Linked DNA regions of Homo sapiens: regions 1, 2, 3, 4, 5 and 7 are each linked to region 6. The links are contacts of gene promoters, found by promoter capture Hi-C in blood cells and fetal thymus (Javierre and others, 2016). All regions are on one chromosome and are shown on one strand. Each heading gives the region's core, a stretch centred on a gene start or on the middle of the fragment in contact. The rest is flanking DNA. Distances are from core to core; before and after follow the strand shown.

Region 1 (2,700 bases), core at 124-2,623, 1.0 Mb before region 6:
GTAATTGTTTTTAAAAGTTATTCTAGTGACTTTCCAGCTTAAAATTTGGAGGCAAATTTTCCTTAAGAGGATATGAAGTACCAGTATCTACAATTGTTGAAAAGCTGTTACATATGTCCCACCAATTCACAATTTAATATCATATACATTACATACTCAAATTTTCAATCTTTCACAGCACAGTAGGTTAGACCATGTCAACACCACCTAAAGATATCAGCTCTCTGTAATTTATTAATTTAATGCAATCCCAATAAAAATTCCAAAGAGCTTTTCTTTTTTTTTTTTAAACTGATCATACATCAGAAAAGTTCATAAGGAAAAATAAACAACAAGAATAGCTAGGAAAATAGTGACAAGGAAGCACTCTCTAGGAAGACTAGCCCTGACATTAAAACATACAGCAAAGCCTCTCTAAAGCAGATGAATAAACGGGTCAATGGATGAAAATAGAAGGTCCAGAAATACCCGAACCACATATGAAAGTCTAGTACATGATAAAGCTGGTATCTCAAGTTACTGGGACAGTGACGACCTTTATAATAAATGGTGTTGGGACACTTGATACCCATTTGAAAAAAAATAATTAGATTCACTCCTCAAACCACACACAATAACACACTCCAAATGTATTATAGATCTAAATGTAAAAAATACATCAGTTCAAGTACTAGAAGCAAGCATGAGTGAACTCTTCTATAACTTGGGTGTAGGGAAGAGTATGACTAAAAGTCATATATTAAAATATGACTAAAAGTCTAGACGTCATAAAATAAAAGACTGGTAAGTCTTGCCACACAAAATTTAAAATATTTGCATGGCAAAGAGAAACAAAAGCCCCCCATAAGCAAACTCAAAAAACAAAAAATAAATTGGGAGGACATATTCATAACACATATCACGAATAAAGGACTCATATCCTTTCAAACTTTATAAAGAACTTTTAAATTTTAAGGGAAAAAAAAAAAAAACCACCAGAAATGCTAAGGAAAAAGAAGCAGCACGCATCCCCCTCTTCCGGAACAGGGAAGTCAGTGTAGTCGGCGCCCCCTAGAAGAGAGGGTTGTGCGTGGCGTGGGGTCTCTGCGCCCGCTCGGGCTGCTGGGTCTTGCGGGCCCCAGGCTCAGCCCTGCTGTCCCCTTCCCGCACCCGTCCCCCGCGCTCCTCACCATACTCCGGGAGGAAGAGCGCCGGGAGGCCTTCCGCGCCCCACGGTTCCCGGCCGGCAGCACGCTCCCCGCCTCCCGATCTCGTCCGGCTCTGGAAGTAACACCTGCAACTCCGTGCATAAGTTCTCTGGGGGTCGGAGCCCCTGGACTCAGAGCAGCGGCAGGAAGGGGGCCTGGCGCAGCCATCCTCAGCTCGCTGGGACTGCAGTTGCGCCCCACCCAACAGGCTTGTGCCTCGAACTTCTTTTCTCTGAAAACCGCTTCCGTCAAAGATTGAGGCCTCGAGTTTGCGAACAGCTGCCTCAGGATTGTGTCGCCCTTTGGGACAGACGTTACTGCCAGACAAATCCTGGGTCAAAATCCTGAGGTCTGCAATTTTATTAGTTATGTAGCCTCAGTCAATAGCATCTGTACAGTGGGCACAGCCATAACTATTTCATGTTATTATAATGAAGATTAAATGAGATAAAGTCTGTAGAATGCCTGGCACATTAAAACACAGGAATCAGTATTCCTTTCCTTTTCTGTTGGGCATCCCACTCCTTTCCCCCCAATTCTCCCTACACACCCATATTTAGAAAAATACACTGGGTTCTCTCCTGTGCTCCCTAAGCCAGGGCTGGAGTCAGGTTCCCCTCTGGCCCAACAGGGCATTATTTAATTCAATCAACGCGTATTGAAGGCCTTTGATATGCCTGGCACTGTGTTAAGATTATAAAGATGAATTAGACACAGATCCCCTCTCTTTGGAGTGAGGGGTGAAGTAGGAGGTGGAGAAATAAAACATAGATTAATACTGTTACCTGGTGTATCACGAAAAGTCCTGGCAGTATACAGATGGTATACTCAAAATTAATAATTGAAGATAATTTAATAAAGAAATTATTTACACAGGTGTGGGCAAAGGGTTAAGGAAACCATTGAGAGATGGTGAAGTAGCCTCCTCCCCTTACCATCTAGGCTGAAGGGGCAAGGGAGGGGGCATCTCCTGAACTTGGTAAGAGCTATACCAAGTGCCAGCAGGTAGAACCCATGACTGCTTTCGGAAGACAGCCAGGGGAGTATAAGCATCCCAAGTACTCTCTCCGTGTGCCTTCCAATCTCGTGCTGGTACCTCCCACTGCAGAACCCAATGAGTAATCAGAGAATGGAGCTGATGTGGTACTTAGAGGTCAGCCCTCAGTACCACCTCCAAGGCAGAGAGCAGGGTAAAAGGTTTTGGTATCGTATTTGCATTGAGATACATATAAAGTATTAGGATAACAGAAATCAGTGGTTCGTTGTAATTTAGAGACAAGATTGGAGAAAAGTTTCTATAGTAGTGGCATTTCAGTAAGACCTTGCATGATGAGTAGGGGACTTTCTAAGAGGAAAATCAGGTGAAGAATGAGAATGAGGTGTGTCTCTCTCTCCCTCTCTCTCTTCAGAGTTCCCTTTTTCATCATCTGTCATGCAGAGAGCAGCGATGGGGGTGGATTACACAGAACAAAGATCACATGAATGAAAGCATAGACTGTGCTTTGGAAAATCT
Region 2 (2,700 bases), core at 119-2,618, 1.1 Mb before region 6:
GAGACACATGTTTATTCATCCTTGTATTGCTAGCATATGGTATATAATTGAGGCTCAGTAAATGTTTGCTGAATTGGAGATTTACTGCTTGGGTCACTGGAGGAAAGCAAGACTATCTGATGATGCCCAAACATGGGTATCACCTAACACATTATACTCCAAAAAATAGTTAAGTTCCCATCACTGAAAAGAAAAAAGGATCCCTATAGCAAATGATTAAGGAATACACACAGAAAGTGAAATGGCCAAGGCCTGCTGTATACGAAGCCCGCTGAATGGCAATCACCCAGCTGACTCATTCCTCTCCACTGTTGACTGTAAAAATGAGTTACACATACACACAAGGTCAGTCTCACTGTATGCTTGTCCACTGAAGCATGGTGGGTACGATCTGATCTTTAGGCATTCTGTGGACAGTTTTTCAATGGGGACTCTTATCGTGTTCAAGACCCTGGATGTAAGGAGAAGTAAGAATATAAAAAAACATTAGTTAAGAAATTTACAGATTTTCTAATGGAGGTATATGAGGAAAATGACATGTGTAAATGTTCGCAGTGGCCACATAAAATGCTCTGTGTGCACCAAATCCATTTTGCTTACTTCCTGGACAATATTTCTCAAGTTTTCTGCAGTTCAGTTTCAACAGTAGTGTCCCTGCAGTTAATGGAATATGGGTGGAAGTGAATTCCACCTTCAGGCCTGGCCAATATAAATATCCTTAATATGAAACCCCATTCTCCCTTGCAGTGACCTTGGAAACCACATTTAAAGATAATGGTGTCAAAGGGTGGAAGGAGCCTGGGTCCCTGAATGACCACATGAAGTGACTGACACTCCCACCACCATCACAGCTGCCAACTACACTGAACTGTGATGCGAAGGAGAAATAAACTTGTGTTGTGGCCAGGCGCAGTGGCTCATGCCTGTAATCCCAGCACTTTGGGAGAACGAGGCAGGCGGATCACTTGACATCAGGAGTTCCAGACTAGCCTGGCCAATGTGATGAAACCCTGTCTCTACCAAAAATACAAAAATTAGCCGAGTGTGGTAACACACGCCTCTAATCCCAGCTACTCAGGAGGCTGAGGCTGGAGAATCGCTTGAAGCTGGGAGGCGGAGGTTGCAGTGAGCCGAGATTGTACCACTGCACTCCAGTCTGGGCGATTCCGTCTCAGAAAAATAAATGAATAAATAAACAAACAAACTTGTGTTGTGTTAGGTTACTGATTTGGGAGGTTGTTTGTTACAACAGTTAGACCACTCTGTTGTGTGCTGGCTATCATGCCATGCACACACACTCATGCTAAATTAAAAAAAAAATAGCTTAAGCATAAAGCAACTACATAAATTAGCACTAAGTGAGACAGGTATGACAAATCACAATGACTGCTGGGCTAGGGAGGAGGCTATATGTGTTTAATCCCTGCTGCCACTCTTTAGCCATGTGACCTTGGGCATGTCTCTTAATCATAAAATGAGGGTATAGGACTAAGTGAACTGGACTGAAAGAATCTTTCCAGCAATATAGTTTTATAATCCCATCAATATTAGACGCTTCACCACAAGAAAGGCTTAATTGACCAAAAAAGAGCATTAACAATCAGGCCAAGAGTCCCAGAAAGAGATAAAAGGGCTGGGCTGGCATGGAAAGACTTGAGAGAAGAGGAGGAAGTTCAGCAGGTCTTGAAGGGTATGTGGAATTGGGTAGAGAAAAGTGGGCTAGAGGGAATGGTGAGCAACAGAAGCACAGGCAGAGTGCTGCAACTGCATCAGACAATTTAGAAAACAGTGATTTGACTGATGTGGCTCAAAAGGCGCACAATTGTGCAGAATGAAGAAAATGAGGCCAGAAAAGCAGACTAGATCCAGAAGGTGGTCTGGACTTTATCTCCCAGCTTGTGGTAAGGGTGAGTCATGGAAGGTTTCCATGAAAAGGATGGCAGGCTATTTAGCAATAGTGCAAAGGGCTGGTCAGGTTTAAGGAGAAGGGTGGCAGACACAGACAGAGCAGGCAGGGAGCTCCTGCCATGTTGAACTTGTGAGGTAAAAAGGAAGGGCCCGTGGTGAGAGAAGGATGGATAAGGAAAACTTTAAAAGAAAATGAGGCTGGGTGCAGTGGCTCATGCCTGTAATCTCAGCACTCTGGGAGGCCAAGGCGGGAGGGTCATTTGGGGCCAGGAGTTCAAGACCAGCCTGGGTAACATAGTGAGACCACGACTCCACAAAAAATGTTAAAAATTGGCTGGGCATGGTAATGCATGTTATAATAGCCCCAGCTACTTAGGAGGCTGCTGTGGGAGGATTGCTTGAGCCAGGGAGGTCGAGGCTGCAGTGAGCCAAGACAGCCTGAGCAACAGAATGAAACCCTCTCTCCAAAAACAATAAAATAAAATAAATAGGTCTCTATGATCAGCAGATGTGAAAGGAGTGATGCGTGAAATGTCTAGTAGGTGACGAGCAGACTGATTGTGTACTTCAAGAGAAATGAGGAAGCCAGAAAGGGCCCTTGCTTGGGGAGGAAGATGACACATGTGGCTTCAGGCATGTTGGCTCTAATATACTTCCCAACAGGAAGGTCAGACAGAAGTTCTGGAATTGAGAGAGGAGTCCAGGCTGGGGATATGGATTTGAAAACACCAGAATTTCCGACCACAGGTAAGCAGTATTTCTCTGCTCTTGCCCTTGTCTCTTCTCCAGGAC
Region 3 (2,700 bases), core at 111-2,610, 1.7 Mb before region 6:
ATGCCATCTCTACAAAAAATTGTTTTAAATTAGCCAGGTGTGGTGATGCACACCCATAGTCACAGCTACTCAGGAGGCTGAGGCAGGAGGATCACGTGAACCCAGGAGTTCAAGGGTGCTATGAGCTGATTGTGCCACTGTACTCCTGCCTGGGCAACAGAGCAAAACCCCATCTCTAAAAATAAAAATAAAATATTGAATAGAGGGGCTCAACATTAACAAAGTGAGCATATCTTATGAATTGTATTATCACCAAATATGTCTCATAGAAAACAAGATGAAAACAAAAGACTCTGCCACTAGTGGAACAGTAAGGAGATAAGAATGAGGGCTCAGTAACACTGAGTGTCCATTACATGTAGCATTTTACCAGGAACTTTCTATTTTCTCACTTACTCCTTTCTTACATGGCCAACTTTCAATTACCCTCCAATGGTGAAGCGCCACATCATGAATAAATCATCCTATGAATAAAAGACCCATTTTAGCCATAAATTTTAACATCATTAAAAATGAAAATATTTATTAATATGAAATATGCCAGATGATGGTAACTTACAACAGTAACCTAAAGGAGAATCTGAGATCATTTTAAGAAGTCAATGGTAATTACACCATGAGAGACTTGGATAAAACACAGAACAAGCAAAGTTTGCCTTTGACATCTTTATTTCCTTTTCTTCAGAGTTAATCTCCCAATTCACCCTTTCTCACTTCCCTAACACAGCCACACTCCAGAGAATGAAGATCCTGACTTTTTTAGATAACTGATCAGATAATCCCTAACTTACATATTGGGTATATTTCCCAAAGCTTATTGCATCTAGATCTCATTTTCCCACAGAAACTGTACTATAACAGTAATTAGGTTCCTAGGCCAGTTCACAAGAGCCTATTTAACATACATGGTGCTGAAAAGCTGTACATTTTGCCATAATAAGCAGGAGAAAAGGAATGTGATACTAGTAATGAGACAAAATAGGAAAATTGAATACCCAGGTTATCTCCTTCCCCCAACTGGTTTAGTAGTTATAGGTTGGTTGCATTTCCCTGCCACACCCTCTCCCTGCCAAACACCTAGTCTACAATGAGACAATGCTGTCCCATCAATTTTAGGATTCACACATACTCTGTTCCTCATTATTATTGACCAAAAAAAGAGGGGGGTGGTATTTCCCTTCATTCTCTTCCCTGGTTCATTTCTCTCTCCATAAAAAGTGAAAAGAATTGGGAGAATTAGGAACACATGCTGCCAAGAAAGGGGTTAAGGGTAAAGAGCAGCAGCCATTTTTTACCAGATAATAATGCGATGCCTGAATCCAAAAGATTGTGGTTCATATATATCATTTACTATTTTTGTGACGTTGAAGGAGCTCCTTTACATTCCTAAGTCTCATTTACCTTATCTGTAAAATAGGGTAGTGATAGCACTACCCAGCATCTACCTGCCCAGCATCCCTTCCCTCTTTCCCTTTGGGGAATTACCTTCAGCGCCATTCTGTATGGCTTTGGTAAAGCTCAAAGGGGTAAGGACATGTGATGCAGTCTTAGCCAAATAAGAGTACCTCATCCCCTCTGACTACAATGATTAATCAGTCTAGAAATGGTCAATTATACAAGCAAAGACAATGTCTTGTTCTTGAGACATGGAGAGGAGTTGCTCAGTTGGACTGAAGTAAGCCTGGAGCTGTCTGTGTAGTGCTTTCAAGTCGTAGAGAGTATCTATCTGCAAAAGGTGAGAGACTGTAGAAATGAGAAAGATTCCTGATAACATCTGTGAAGCCAGCTCCACCACTACCCTTCAAAATACCCATTTTTCCTTAAGCTAATGTGAGTTGTGTGTCTGCCCCTGGCAATGGAAAAGAGCTCTATTTAATAGCCCTTCACAGAGCTGTTAGAAAGCTTAATGATAATGTCAGTAAAGTACCTGGCAATAGCAAGTACTCAATAATTGGGTTATAGTTTAAGTTGTTACTCTAGTAATCAGAAAATTTCCCGAAAGAGTGAAAGGGAAACACTGCTAGACACTAAAGCCAAAATGCAGGTAAGCCTAAAACAGTATTCCTGGCTGGAGGTAGCAGTGTAGGGAGAAAGTGAACCCTCAGGCAAGGAAAAAACATTAGGAGGCTCACAGCGATTATACGGCTTCAAATGAATTCACAGTGAAAGAACTAAAAAATTTTACTTCTTGCACTAAAATTCACAATAGGATATGATTGGCTTCCCAAAAGGTATTTGTCTTTTCAGCATCTTACTGTTTAAATAAAGAGATTTCAAAATGTACAACTATGATTTTTAAATCTCTAAAGCCAACTGCAAAGTTTTAAAGATCTCAGATGACCCAACCTAATTTCCATATGGTTCATACTTACTTTAGCCATGTTTTTTTCTTAAGTGGTAACATAAGTTTATTCATTAAAAATTCATTACAGTCTAAGGAAAGTACCCTTCGACTTATAAAACAGATGAATTCCTTAAAATTTTATATAGAGAGAATTGGAATATCACTATAGAATGTGAGAAGAAATCACAAAACTGAACACCCCACACTACACACCATCCTGCCCAATCAACAAGGTTTCTCTGGCACTCTGAATGCTGTCATATTCCTAAAACAACCATCCCTCATTTAGTAGCTACTACGACATGCACAAGGAACTGTGCTAGCACAAGCCATGCTCCACAGAATGTCCTTCATTG
Region 4 (2,700 bases), core at 8-2,507, 1.5 Mb before region 6:
TAATATACATTTTCTATTAAAGAGTTTTTAAGTGCTAATATAAATATTAACTAATAAGCAATTGGAGAAAAAAATTTATATGGAAAAATCTCAGTTCAAGCCTAGCTCTGAAAATTACCAATTGCATCCCTGATTCCTATCTGTAAAATGAGGATAATAATCATTCATTTATTAAATCATTATTTTGTACCTTTAAAAGAAACCACCAAACAAACAAAAACCAAGCCCTGTTCTGTAAGCTGGGGCTATAGTGATGAACAAAGCAGGCAAGGCCTCTGCTCCTGTGGAATTTATATTCTGGTCAGGGGAGACAGACAATAAATATGTACAATGTCAGATGGTGATAATGACAAGTATTTGTCATTTTTGAAAAGATGGTAATACATCTCTGATGAATTGATATTTGAGCAGAGATTAAAGGAAGTGAGGAAATGACCTATGTGGACATTTGGCAAAAGAGCTTTCCAGGCAGAGAGAGCATCAAGTACAAAGGCCTTGAGGTGAGAGCCTTGGGTGTGTGAGGAATAGCAGAGAGGCTGGGGAAGCCTGAGAGAAGTGAGGATAGGGAGAGCGCTAGCAGATAATGTCAGACAGGCCTTGTGGGGCTGCTAAGGCTTTTTCTCTAGAGAGCTGGGGAGCCATAGAAGGTTTTTGAGCAGAGGAGTGATAGGATCTGAATTAGGACAGCTTCCGTGTGGAGAACAGACTGTAGGTACAAAGGTTAGAAATGGCAGAGCAAACATCCAGGGGAGAGAAGAGAGTGGTTTGAACTAGGGCACAAGTAGAAGAGGTGGGGAGAAATGGTAAGATTCTGAAAATATTTCAAAGATAGAGACGACAGGATTTATGGATGGTCTGAATGGAGGGTATGAAATGACTTCAAGCTTTTGACCTTGAGGAACTGGAAGAATGGAGTTTTTACTTACTAGGATGGGGAAGACTGAGGGAGGAGCTGGCTTGGAAAAACAAATCAGAAGTTAAGTGTTGGGTATGTTAAGATAGAGATGTCTCTTAGATGGTCATGCAGAGGAGGGGCAGGCAGTTGGTTCTATACATCCAGATTTTAAGAGAGAGCGAGAGGGCCGGAGCTGCAGATACAAACTTGGGCATCATCCGCACAGAGAGGTTTACAGCCAGTGACTGGACAAGCTTATCTAGGTCTTCAGTGTAGCTGTCTCCCTCACATGGCTGTGAAGGTCAAAGGGGATAGTATATGGCAAATAGTTTTGTAAACTGTAAAGTGCTATACACAAGGAAAGGAACAAGTGTGCAAATACGGTAAAGAGCATAATGTAGAGCAGGATTTAAAGAAGTATCTTCAGGTAGAGACAGAATCATAGAATACATGTGCAAGGAGAAGCTTACAAACCAGTGGATCAACCCCTTTCATTTTATCCAGGAGGAGCTAAGGTTGGAGAGATTAAGAGGCTTGTCCAAGGACACTCAGCTCATCAGTGGCCCAGCTCATCCTAGGACTGGGGAGCCCTAACTGCTGGTGCGGTGCTCTTTCCACCACATGAAACACCTGCTCACATTTACTGCTTCAGCTCTCTCTGAATCTGTTAACCAGGGGCAAGTAATTCTTCAAACAGAAATCTAATTATATCGCCTTGTGCTTTTATACATGCTACTTCCTCTGCCTGGAATACTCTGCCTCCTCCTGCTTCTCTGTCTGGCAAATTCCTGCCTTATCTTCCATTCTCAGCTAGAATGGCCATTTCCAATGAAGACTTCTTTGTCCTGTTTGGTAGGATGGTAACTGGCTCTCCATGTGCCCGCAGAGCTCCCATCCTGTGGCAGTCCTTGCATTTGCTATGATTACGTCTGCCTCCCCTGCCTGCCTGTGAAGCTCTTCCTATGACCTCTCTGCCTAGCTTAGTGAGTGACACTTAAATGGGAAGGAAGGAAGGAAGGAAGGAAGATCTCTTCTTTCACATTAGTTCAGGACAATGGCAAAGCAGTCATTCAGTGACACTTCAGTTCCTCTGACCTGAGCAAGGTTTTGGTTCACAAATTGACAATGACTTCTGGGGTGGGAATTTTCTTTTTTCTTTGCCATCCCCAGGCACAATGAGCAGGCAATTCTGGGAGCAGAAAACAATTTGGACATTATACGTGCTGTCTTTTTATTTTCAATTCTCTGTCTCCTATTAGTATATGACTGGCTGTTTGCCTTTTGCTGCAAGACAAGGTTTGTGTTTGTGCCTGGGCTATGCACAAGCATGTGTACACACACACACACACATAGAGGGGAGAGAGAGAGAGAGAGAGAGAGAGAGAGAGAGAGAGAGAGAGAGAGAGAGAGAGATGGCCTCTTGGGAGAGCCTGCACTCATTTTTTAGCTTTATCTCCCAGAAAATGCCCTCAGGTGGGAGGAAGAAGACAGTGTTGTGCTCCTAGCTTTTCCACCCTTTCCTGCTCTTGAGCATGAGAATTTGGATCTATTTCTTAAACTCTTTCAACCTTAGTTCAAGATAAGTTTGGAATTTCTAGGTCAAGAGTGAATCCTAAAAACTCCGTCACCCCCTATATTCACCGCTCTTTAGCTTGTTTGCTTGAGATAACACTGTGTTAATTACTATATTTCCATTCTGCTTAATTACAATGTTTCGGTAGAAGAAGAATTGCTCCTAACAGAAGCAATTATCTTATAGGTTATTGCAAAGGTCTAAGGAAGGTGGCAGAAGCTGGTTGTGATAC
Region 5 (2,700 bases), core at 39-2,538, 1.6 Mb before region 6:
AACTCAAATTCACACAAAAGGAACAAAAAGTATCAGAAAATGTGAATATATGAATTAATATAAAACTTTTCCTCTTTTGAAAATGTATATAATTAACCACGTAAAGCAAAAGTGGTAACAAATTGTTTTTGTTACCACTTTTGCTTTAATCACTTAAAGCAAAAGTGTAACAAAAATAAAAATGTTTACAACAAATGAAGAAGTAAAACATATGTTAATGATATTGTAAGGGAAAGGGGAATGAATATATACTGTTAGAAGGTTTTTAACACCATGCATGAAGTGGTGTAACTGTATTTGAAGGTAGAACGTGATAAGTTAAAGATACATATTAGGGCTGGGCGCGGTGGCTCACGCCTGTAATCCCAGCTCTTTGGGAGGCTGAGGCGGGTAGATCACCTGAGGTCAGGAGTTCGAGACCAGCCTGACCAACGTGGTGAAACCCTGTCTCTACTAAAAATACAAAAAAAAAAAAAAAAAAATAGCTGGGCATGGCGGGCACCTGTAATCCCAGCTACTTGGGAGGCTGAGGCAGGAGAATCACTTGAACCTGGGAGGTGGAGGCTGAAGTGAGCCGAGATGGTGGCACTGCACTCCAGCGTGGGCAGTAGAATGAGACTCTGTGTCAAAGAAAAAAAAAAAATAGCCATCTGATACATTATCCTCTACCTACTCTTTTCTCCATATATCTTAAATGTCTGATACCTTTGGTCTTATGTCGGATCAGAATGGTCAGGCTTTTATATCCTTGCTTCATAAAGTCACCAGATGTGGATTCCCCCAAGATGGGCATGATATCAAACAAGGTAGCTCTCCAAAGGTGAAGCACATACAAAAAGCTATCAGCTGGAGGCTACCTGCTGACTCTCCCTGCAGCTGGGTGGCAAGTCCTCCCTTGAAGGAGGACCCAGACAGGGAATTTCTGTGTCTGCCACAGACATACATTGTTTCCGTAGGATTCCCACCAAAAATGCGAAACCAGAAAATAATCACATGGAAACATTAAAGTAACCCTAATTGAAAGACATTTTTCATAACAAATGGCCCCATACCCTTCAAAAATGTCAATGTTAAAAAGATAAAGACTGAGGATATTTTCCAGATTAAAGGAGACTAAAGAGACACGAAAACTAAATGCAGTGTAGGATCCTGAATTAGACCCTAGACTAGAGGAAGAAATAGCCATAAAGAACACTATTTGGACAACTGATGATATTTGAATATGGACAGTAAATTAGATAGTAGTACTGTATCAATACTAAATTTATTAATTTTGATCATTTTAATTTTATTTTAGTTAAGATTAAGTTTTAAAATTGAAGCAATGTAGAACTTTAAAAATATTGATTATATGTGTTGAAATGATAATATCTTGATATGTAGTTTAAAATATATTATGGTCAATGTTATCTGTTTCCTTTTACTTTTTTAAGGTGGCTACTGGAAAAAAATCACATATGTAGCTTACATTCTATTTTTATGGGACAGCACTGTTTTATACCGTTACTTTTTCATAATATATAATCAAGATTATTTGTAGCACTCCCCCCATCCCGTGTTTTTTTTTTTGCACTTTCGGATTTCTCTATTGGTATGTGAGCCAGCTCTCTGGAAGGCCTGGGCTTTTAATCTGTGACGGGAGATAAATGGTTAAGACTATGAAGTCACCTTTGTGCAGCCAGTCTGAGGGAGCCCCCAACTCCACCGCCAGGCTCCAGGTGGAGTTGCTGGGGCGGCGGGGCGGGGCGGGGGGAGGTGCAGATGTGTATTTGGGTAGGATTATGTCTGAGTCTTGGAACAGAGCGCTACAGAACCAGGGGAAAAGAGTTGCCAGCAGGAGGGGCTGGAGAGGCTGGGGCTGGGATGGAAGCAGGGATGTCTCAACGCTGCATTTGCATCAATAGTTTTGCCACCATCACATCGTTTCCTTGTCTCTAACACTGTATGTCTAGAGCTGTCCTAAACACAAAGGTGTCATATTTATATTATGTTATTTTTCTTTCAGGTTAGCACCATCTTTGACAGCAATATTTCTAAAAAACAGAAAGAAAAGTTTCTTATCTGTATCTTGGAAATTCTGAAATAACATTCCCACTGTGGTATAAATGGTTTATTATTCAATGTTGTGTTTTAATTAATGCTTCACATATTCAACAAACATTGTGCATCCTCTCTGTGCTGGGCAGTGACAGCGATAAATATGATATGGTCCCTCCTTTAAGGCACTCACAGGATGGGGAGAGAAACATGTATAAAGACAATGACAACTGCTATGGTCTGAATGTATCCTCCAAAATTCATATGTTGAAACTCAATTGCCAATGTAATAGCATTAAGAGGTGGGGCCTTTAGGAGTAATCAAATCGTGAAGGCCCTCATAAAAGGGATTGAGGGAGTGGGTTTATGCTCCTCCACTCTTCCACCATGTGAGACACAGCATTTGTCCCCTCTAGACGATGCAGCAACACGGTGCCGTCTTGGAAGCAGAGATCAGGCCCTCCCCAAATACCAAACCTGCTGGTGCCTTGATCTTGGACTTCCCAGTTTCCAGAACTGTGAGAACCAAGTTTCTGTTGTTATAAAATTACCCAGTCTAAGATATTTTGCAATAGCTGTACAAATAGACTAAGACAGCAGCCAAACGAGATAAATGCCAATAAAACCTGACCAAATGTCTCTGGGAGGATTTCAAAGGGACGG
Region 6 (2,781 bases), core at 31-2,530:
AGGCACCCGCCATCATACCCGGCTAATTTTTTGTATTTTTGTAGAGACGGGGTTTCACCATGTTGGCCAGGCTGGTCTAGAGCTCCTGACCTCAGGTGATGCACTCATCTCGGCCTCCCAAAGTGCTGGGATTACAGGCGTGAGCCACCACGGCCGGCGAGATCTCTTTTATTTCTTTAATAGTACTCTTCATTTCTGCCCAAGCATATGGCACACTTCATTAACTGACTTGTTTAATGTCTGCCTTATTCTCTAGACTCTTTCTCTTTGAGAGCAGGAACCATTTTATGCCATTTCACTGCCATTTACCCAGTGGCTAGCTTACAGTAGATACTCAGTAAATAGTTGTTGATTGCGTAAAAGGCCAAGAGAAAAATGTTTCATTCACGGAGTAATGTCGCCATCTCGTGGAACTTTAGAATATTGTCATTTAAATCAAAAAAATGTTTTCACGGAAGGAATTGATGGTTCGAATGCTATTTTCCAGATTGTATTCGAGTGTTTTTTTTTTTTTTAATTGGACTGGACCTTTTGAGATTTTTAGTGCTCTAGAACTGCACAGCCTCTTCAGGTCAGGCTTAGGGCCTACTAGTTTTGCTTGGTGAAATGAATTATGCAACTAGGTAATGAATGGTCACCGTTTTACGTTCAGAACTCGTTCGCTTCTACCTTTACAAAAGGGACAACACAGATGCATTACTAAGCTCTTGGCTCATAACGATCCCTGGGGTATATTCAGAGCCCCTTCCTCGCGGCGTTCATATAGTGTCTCAGGGGTCTGTCAGCCAGCAATCCCCAATTCCTCATTACATATTCCTCACAATGCATGCTGGCTAAAATGGAAATTGTGTTCAGAAATAGCCCTGCCCTACCATCATATACTAGGAGAAAGGAGGAAATTATGCTCTATTAGAAACCCTAGGCTATCTTGCATAATGCTTCTCAATCTGAAATAATTTTTTACAGAATACCAATACGTTAAGAAGAGCTACTTCCCTGATCTACCTATTATGGGCAGCCCATTTTATGAAGTTAGCATGGCCTTCCTATTCAAACCAGAAATGGACAAAAGGAGAAGGAAGGCTTTTAGGTCAGTATGGTTATAACTGTAGATTCTGTATTCTTCCTCTTTAATCTATCTCTCATATTAACCAACCAGGAGGTTGGAGGCCGGAAGTCTTAGACGCCAGCGAGAGCCGCTCCTTCCCCACGAGTCTATGGCTTTCGGGTTACTTAAGCCACGGAGAACTCTATGGTTCCGGGGCGGGCCGGGAGGTTTGAGTTTGAAGACTGGCGGGAAGATGTCCGCAGCTGTTGCCAGGCCAGGGTTCTCCCGAGAGGGAGGACGCTGGGACTGTGGCTTGCCCTGATCGGCCGAGAAGAGTTTGCCATGAATCTTCTGCGTCGGAGTGGGAAACGGCGGCGTTCAGAATCAGGCTCAGATTCGTTCTCGGGAAGCGGCGGTGACAGCAGTGCCAGCCCCCAGTTCCTCTCCGGGTCCGTGCTGAGCCCGCCGCCCGGCCTTGGTCGCTGCCTGAAGGCCGCAGCTGCAGGTGCTCCAGGAACCCGGGAGGCCGCGGGCAACGGGGGCAGCTCCGCCGGGCCATGGGTCGGGAGGTGTCCTCACCCCACGGGACTTGCTTCGTTGCATACCCCATTGGGCTTCTACTCCCCTTCTCTGTGACTGGGGCCTGGTGTGGCAGGTCACTTTCTGTTCAGACATACGCGTGTTTTCAGTGATCGCCTGGTATTAATGTTCACGTGGCTTCTGGATCTTTCGACCTTTAGAGAAACAACTTCCTAGTTAGCTTCATCCCATCATCTGTTGGGCGGCTCGTTCCTGGTAGTACCCAGTACTCCTTACAGACCCTTAAGACAGGATTGTTGGGCCTGGAGTACGGCACAGGCTGTTCGGCGTCCAGGGGAAGGCTGGAAGGGATTCGTAATGAGATTGGTTGGGTGTCCCGTGGATGTCGACCCAGTTTTTTAAAATCGTTAGTTGTGCAGTCGTCATGGAACTAAAACTTACTATAAATAGAAACTCACCTAACTTAGCTTTGTAATGCTTGCATATTGCCCTCCTCCCCCAACTACACCCGTAATTCCAACACTCTTTATCTACTGTGTATTGCACGCTTTTTTGTTCGTTTGAGGCTTTTAAGGAATTTTTATTATATGCAGTAAATAACAATTTATTACTTTTCTATACATGGTCAATTTCTCATAAGATTCTTGAAGTCAGGATGTGCTTTAAAGAGCTTCATTTCAACACATAGGAATTCCAACACACGGTGAAGGGCTAACTGTAAAACTCATATATTAGAAGTAAATTAAATTTTAATTTTTTCTTTTTCCTAAAAGGAGAATGCAAGCCTACAGTTCCTGACTACGAAAGAGACAAGCTACTATTGGCAAACTGGGGACTTCCTAAAGCAGTTCTGGAAAAATACCACAGTTTTGGTGTAAAAAAGATGTTTGAATGGCAGGCAGAGTGCCTTTTGCTTGGACAAGTCCTGGAAGGAAAGAATTTAGTTTATTCAGGTATCCAAATTTATGTAAACTAATTACTATTTTTAAGATATGAATGTAAAGAATACTCTATTGAGGTAGTTGTGGTTCGTTTAAAAGGTGAATGAGGCAGTGCTTTATAACTAGAGAAAATCGTACAATATGTGTGAAAAGTGGAGTTTTATTTATATTTAAATTACAAAAGTTTTATTGTTTGACTGGGGTGGAGGGAAGCAAGAAAAATGACAATTTAAAGAGTGGGCAATTCTGCCT
Region 7 (2,700 bases), core at 154-2,653, 1.7 Mb before region 6:
TGAGGATGAAGGTAAACAAAAGCCTCATATAATAGCCACACAATGTATTAGGAGGATACTATTAAAATGTTTATAATAATTAGGGAATATTTACTTTTTAATATTAAGTGAAAAAAGGACATAATGGATACATGTACATGTATGAAAATTTGGTGATAATTTTTATTTTATTCTTTATACATTTCCCCCAACTCTTTTTTGTTATTTTTATTTTATTTATTTATAACTTTTTTATTTTCTTTCTCCACTTTTTAATGTTATTTAATCTTTATTATCTTCTATTTTATGGCACTGTCTTGTAGGATCTCCTAATTCTTTAACAATGAATTAGCATATAATCAGAAAAAATGCTTTTATTTCTTTTGAAAGAAAGTAAGCACCACACCTTAGCATAGATATGTCACTAAATAAATGAAAAAGTTCTGTTAAGTATTAGCAGGGACATAATTTCTTTCTTTCTTTTTTTTTTTTTTTTTGAGATGGAGTCTTGCTCTGTCGCCCAGGCTAGAGTGCAATGGCACAATCTTCGGCTCACTACAACCTCCGCCTCCCAGGTTCAAGCAATTCTCCTGCCTCAGCCTGCGGAGTAACTGGGATTATAGGCACCTGCCACCGCGCTCAGTTAATTTTTGTATTTTTAGTAGAGATGGGGTTTCACCACATTGGCCAGGCTGGTCTTGAACTCCTGACCTCGTGATCCACCTGCCTTGGCCTCCCAAAGTGCTGGGATTACAAGCGTGAGCCACCGTGCCTGGCCAGCAGGGACATAATTTCTTTAAAAGGCATCAACAAGTCTATGGGAAAGAAGATAAGAAATAAAAGCAAGTTGATGACTTCTGCTTTGTAGAAGCTTTTACAAACAATTTTAGAATCCGAGAAATCTTAGATTGTCTGTCCTAAGACCTAAGAAATGGCCCCTGGGCTTATGTAGTCTAAAATCTTCATCTTGCAGAATTGCAAGATGAGATACAAGAAGGTAAAATAACCCATGCAGGGTCACAAAGTTACTGGCAGATGGGACCCAGGTATCTTAACTTCCAGGTCAGCATTTCTACTGAGATATCAAAAGATTCCATTTTTTTTCTAATGTGCCATATGCAAATTACTTCCAGGTTGGTATTAGCCTAATTAATGTAATTGTTTCAAGGTTGAGCCTTAAAGAAATACATGTAATATAAGCCAATGTGAAAAAAGCTTATGCCTTCATAAGGTATCAATTCACAAAAAACTTATTACCATCTCTAAACTCAGAGCAAAGTTAAGAAGTGAAAATAATCTAATTTATATATTACTGTGGACTCCAAAATAAACTTATGAACTTAAAAAAACTATACCCATCCTAAGCCTCCCCAGTTTAAACTTAGATACCAAGAAAAACTTCAGTGCTACGTATTTGAATAAATCCCTTGCTATCACCCTGTGAGGCAGTTAATAATCTGGAAGAAACAAACTTGTGCTGAATCTTCAAACACCATTAATAACATGCAAGAATGTTGATTCATGTGGGTCCTCAAATTTAAATGAGCCTCAAGATACTAGAGATAAATGTAGCAGTCATTTTCAGCATTCAGAAAGAGTGTTTAGAATTCATGGCTTTAAAAAAGTAAGCTTTAATGTCTATATATTACTCAAACTCAGGAAATACACTACATATTTTCAGTCAGATCTAAAATTATAATTCCCAAATAAGTCCTTTGCTCTTAAATCAAGTATCAGAGAAGCAGTAAGCCCACTCAATCTGGGGTACTGCCCTTCCCCCTCCTCTAACATTGTGATATGAATAACACCACTGTAGGTAACTTCAAAATAGATAAAACTTTAAGTCCTGTGTCCTGGGATTTGCACTCAAGTCTTCAGAGCAGACTACCTCAGAAAGTTCTACCTTTACTAACCAAAAATTATCCAGAGTGACGTTTGAGATTATTCCTAATGTAAAATGTAATGATCAACCAGAAAGAGGGCTAAGAGTATGTCTTAAGACTAATGGCTTTAGTGAAAATAAAAAGGATATTTTATCCAATACAAGTTGTGAACAATGATAAAACTTCAATAAGGGAAAATTAAAAGTAAGAGACCTCAGGTTCCCAATTTTGTATGTATTTTCTTTCAGGTTAAGTCGGGCTAAGGATGTACTCGGAAAATCACTCTAGTTTGCACTCTTGAACCTATCTGGTTTAAACCTCTAAAGTTTATCATTGTGTCCATTTACATTCTGACACTTCATTTTCTCCTTTTGTTCACTTATCATCCATTCCATCTTTTAGGACACAGAATCTTTACAAAGCAGAGAATTCTAACACTATATAGTGCTCCTTCATTTATCTTCACAGTGGGAAAAGGAAAGGAAAAATATTCCCAAGCACTAGTCACTTACCAGAACATTGTTGTACTCAATGCAGATATAAAGTCCTCGATAACTGGAACAATGGGAGTTTCTACTTTTGGTCAAGTGGATTTGCAAAGGTACTGATTTTCATTTAGGTGAGAGGATCAGAATTTGCTGGAAAATCTTTTAAAATTACCTATGAATGACAAACTACTTGTGGACTACATTATCCCCAACTTTGCATTCTGTTGTTTCCTTGCTCCTCTTAGAATCACTCTCTCAGGAACCTCAACTACTAAATGAGTGTATGTGGAATACTTCAGGTGGGTTATGGCAGAACAAAGACTTTAAGTGCTAAGGGAACACAGAGGCAG

The links. Contacts are between HindIII fragments. The CHiCAGO score rates a contact against its expected background, and 5 or more counts as called.
Region 1: the fragment with the promoter of PARP15 here is called in contact with the fragment with the promoter of POLQ in region 6 in 2 of 17 cell types (neutrophils and activated CD4 T cells); the score reaches 6.3 in neutrophils.
Region 2: a contact is called between a fragment that was not itself captured here and the fragment with the promoter of POLQ in region 6, in 1 of 17 cell types (naive CD8 T cells). The highest score is 7.1, in naive CD8 T cells.
Region 3: a fragment that was not itself captured here is called in contact with the fragment with the promoter of POLQ in region 6 in 1 of 17 cell types (fetal thymus); the score reaches 5.1 in fetal thymus.
Region 4: a fragment that was not itself captured here is called in contact with the fragment with the promoter of POLQ in region 6 in 10 of 17 cell types (total B cells, naive B cells, naive CD8 T cells and 7 more); the score reaches 17.7 in total B cells.
Region 5: a fragment that was not itself captured here is called in contact with the fragment with the promoter of POLQ in region 6 in 1 of 17 cell types (total B cells); the score reaches 5.9 in total B cells.
Region 7: a contact is called between a fragment that was not itself captured here and the fragment with the promoter of POLQ in region 6, in 2 of 17 cell types (naive B cells and total B cells). The highest score is 8.1, in naive B cells.

What each region holds. Positions count from the first base shown.
Region 1 is chr3:122,576,323-122,579,022 of GRCh38, reverse strand. It overlaps PARP15 (poly(ADP-ribose) polymerase family member 15), which reads right to left and starts at 1,373. Exons shown (of 12, transcript NM_001113523.3): 1 at 1,170-1,373. The coding sequence starts at 1,355. RefSeq lists a silencer at 1,017-1,066 and an enhancer at 1,127-1,406. The HindIII fragment of the contact is 6,929 bases long and covers 1-2,700 here.
Region 2 is chr3:122,689,013-122,691,712 of GRCh38, reverse strand. The region is part of intron 3 of PARP14 (poly(ADP-ribose) polymerase family member 14); the gene reads right to left. Among named protein-coding and RNA genes, the nearest start is that of PARP14, 9.5 kb to the right of the region's middle. The HindIII fragment of the contact is 2,756 bases long and covers 1-2,700 here.
Region 3 is chr3:123,214,323-123,217,022 of GRCh38, reverse strand. All of the region lies in intron 2 of SEC22A (SEC22 homolog A, vesicle trafficking protein), which reads right to left. Among named protein-coding and RNA genes, the nearest start is that of SEC22A, 14 kb to the right of the region's middle. The HindIII fragment of the contact is 1,089 bases long and covers 816-1,904 here.
Region 4 is chr3:123,030,231-123,032,930 of GRCh38, reverse strand. No RefSeq gene overlaps it. Among named protein-coding and RNA genes, the nearest start is that of SEMA5B, 3.8 kb to the right of the region's middle. The HindIII fragment of the contact is 211 bases long and covers 1,152-1,362 here.
Region 5 is chr3:123,193,819-123,196,518 of GRCh38, reverse strand. No RefSeq gene overlaps it. Among named protein-coding and RNA genes, the nearest start is that of SEC22A, 6.8 kb to the left of the region's middle. The HindIII fragment of the contact is 6,224 bases long and covers 1-2,700 here.
Region 6 is chr3:121,544,487-121,547,267 of GRCh38, reverse strand. POLQ (DNA polymerase theta) reads left to right here and starts at 1,280. Exons shown (of 30, transcript NM_199420.4): 1 at 1,280-1,553; 2 at 2,362-2,541. The coding sequence starts at 1,391. RefSeq lists enhancers at 1,132-1,426, 1,318-1,547. The HindIII fragment of the contact is 11,524 bases long and covers 1-2,781 here.
Region 7 is chr3:123,251,489-123,254,188 of GRCh38, reverse strand. The region is part of intron 5 of SEC22A (SEC22 homolog A, vesicle trafficking protein); the gene reads right to left. Among named protein-coding and RNA genes, the nearest start is that of SEC22A, 51 kb to the right of the region's middle. The HindIII fragment of the contact is 414 bases long and covers 1,197-1,610 here.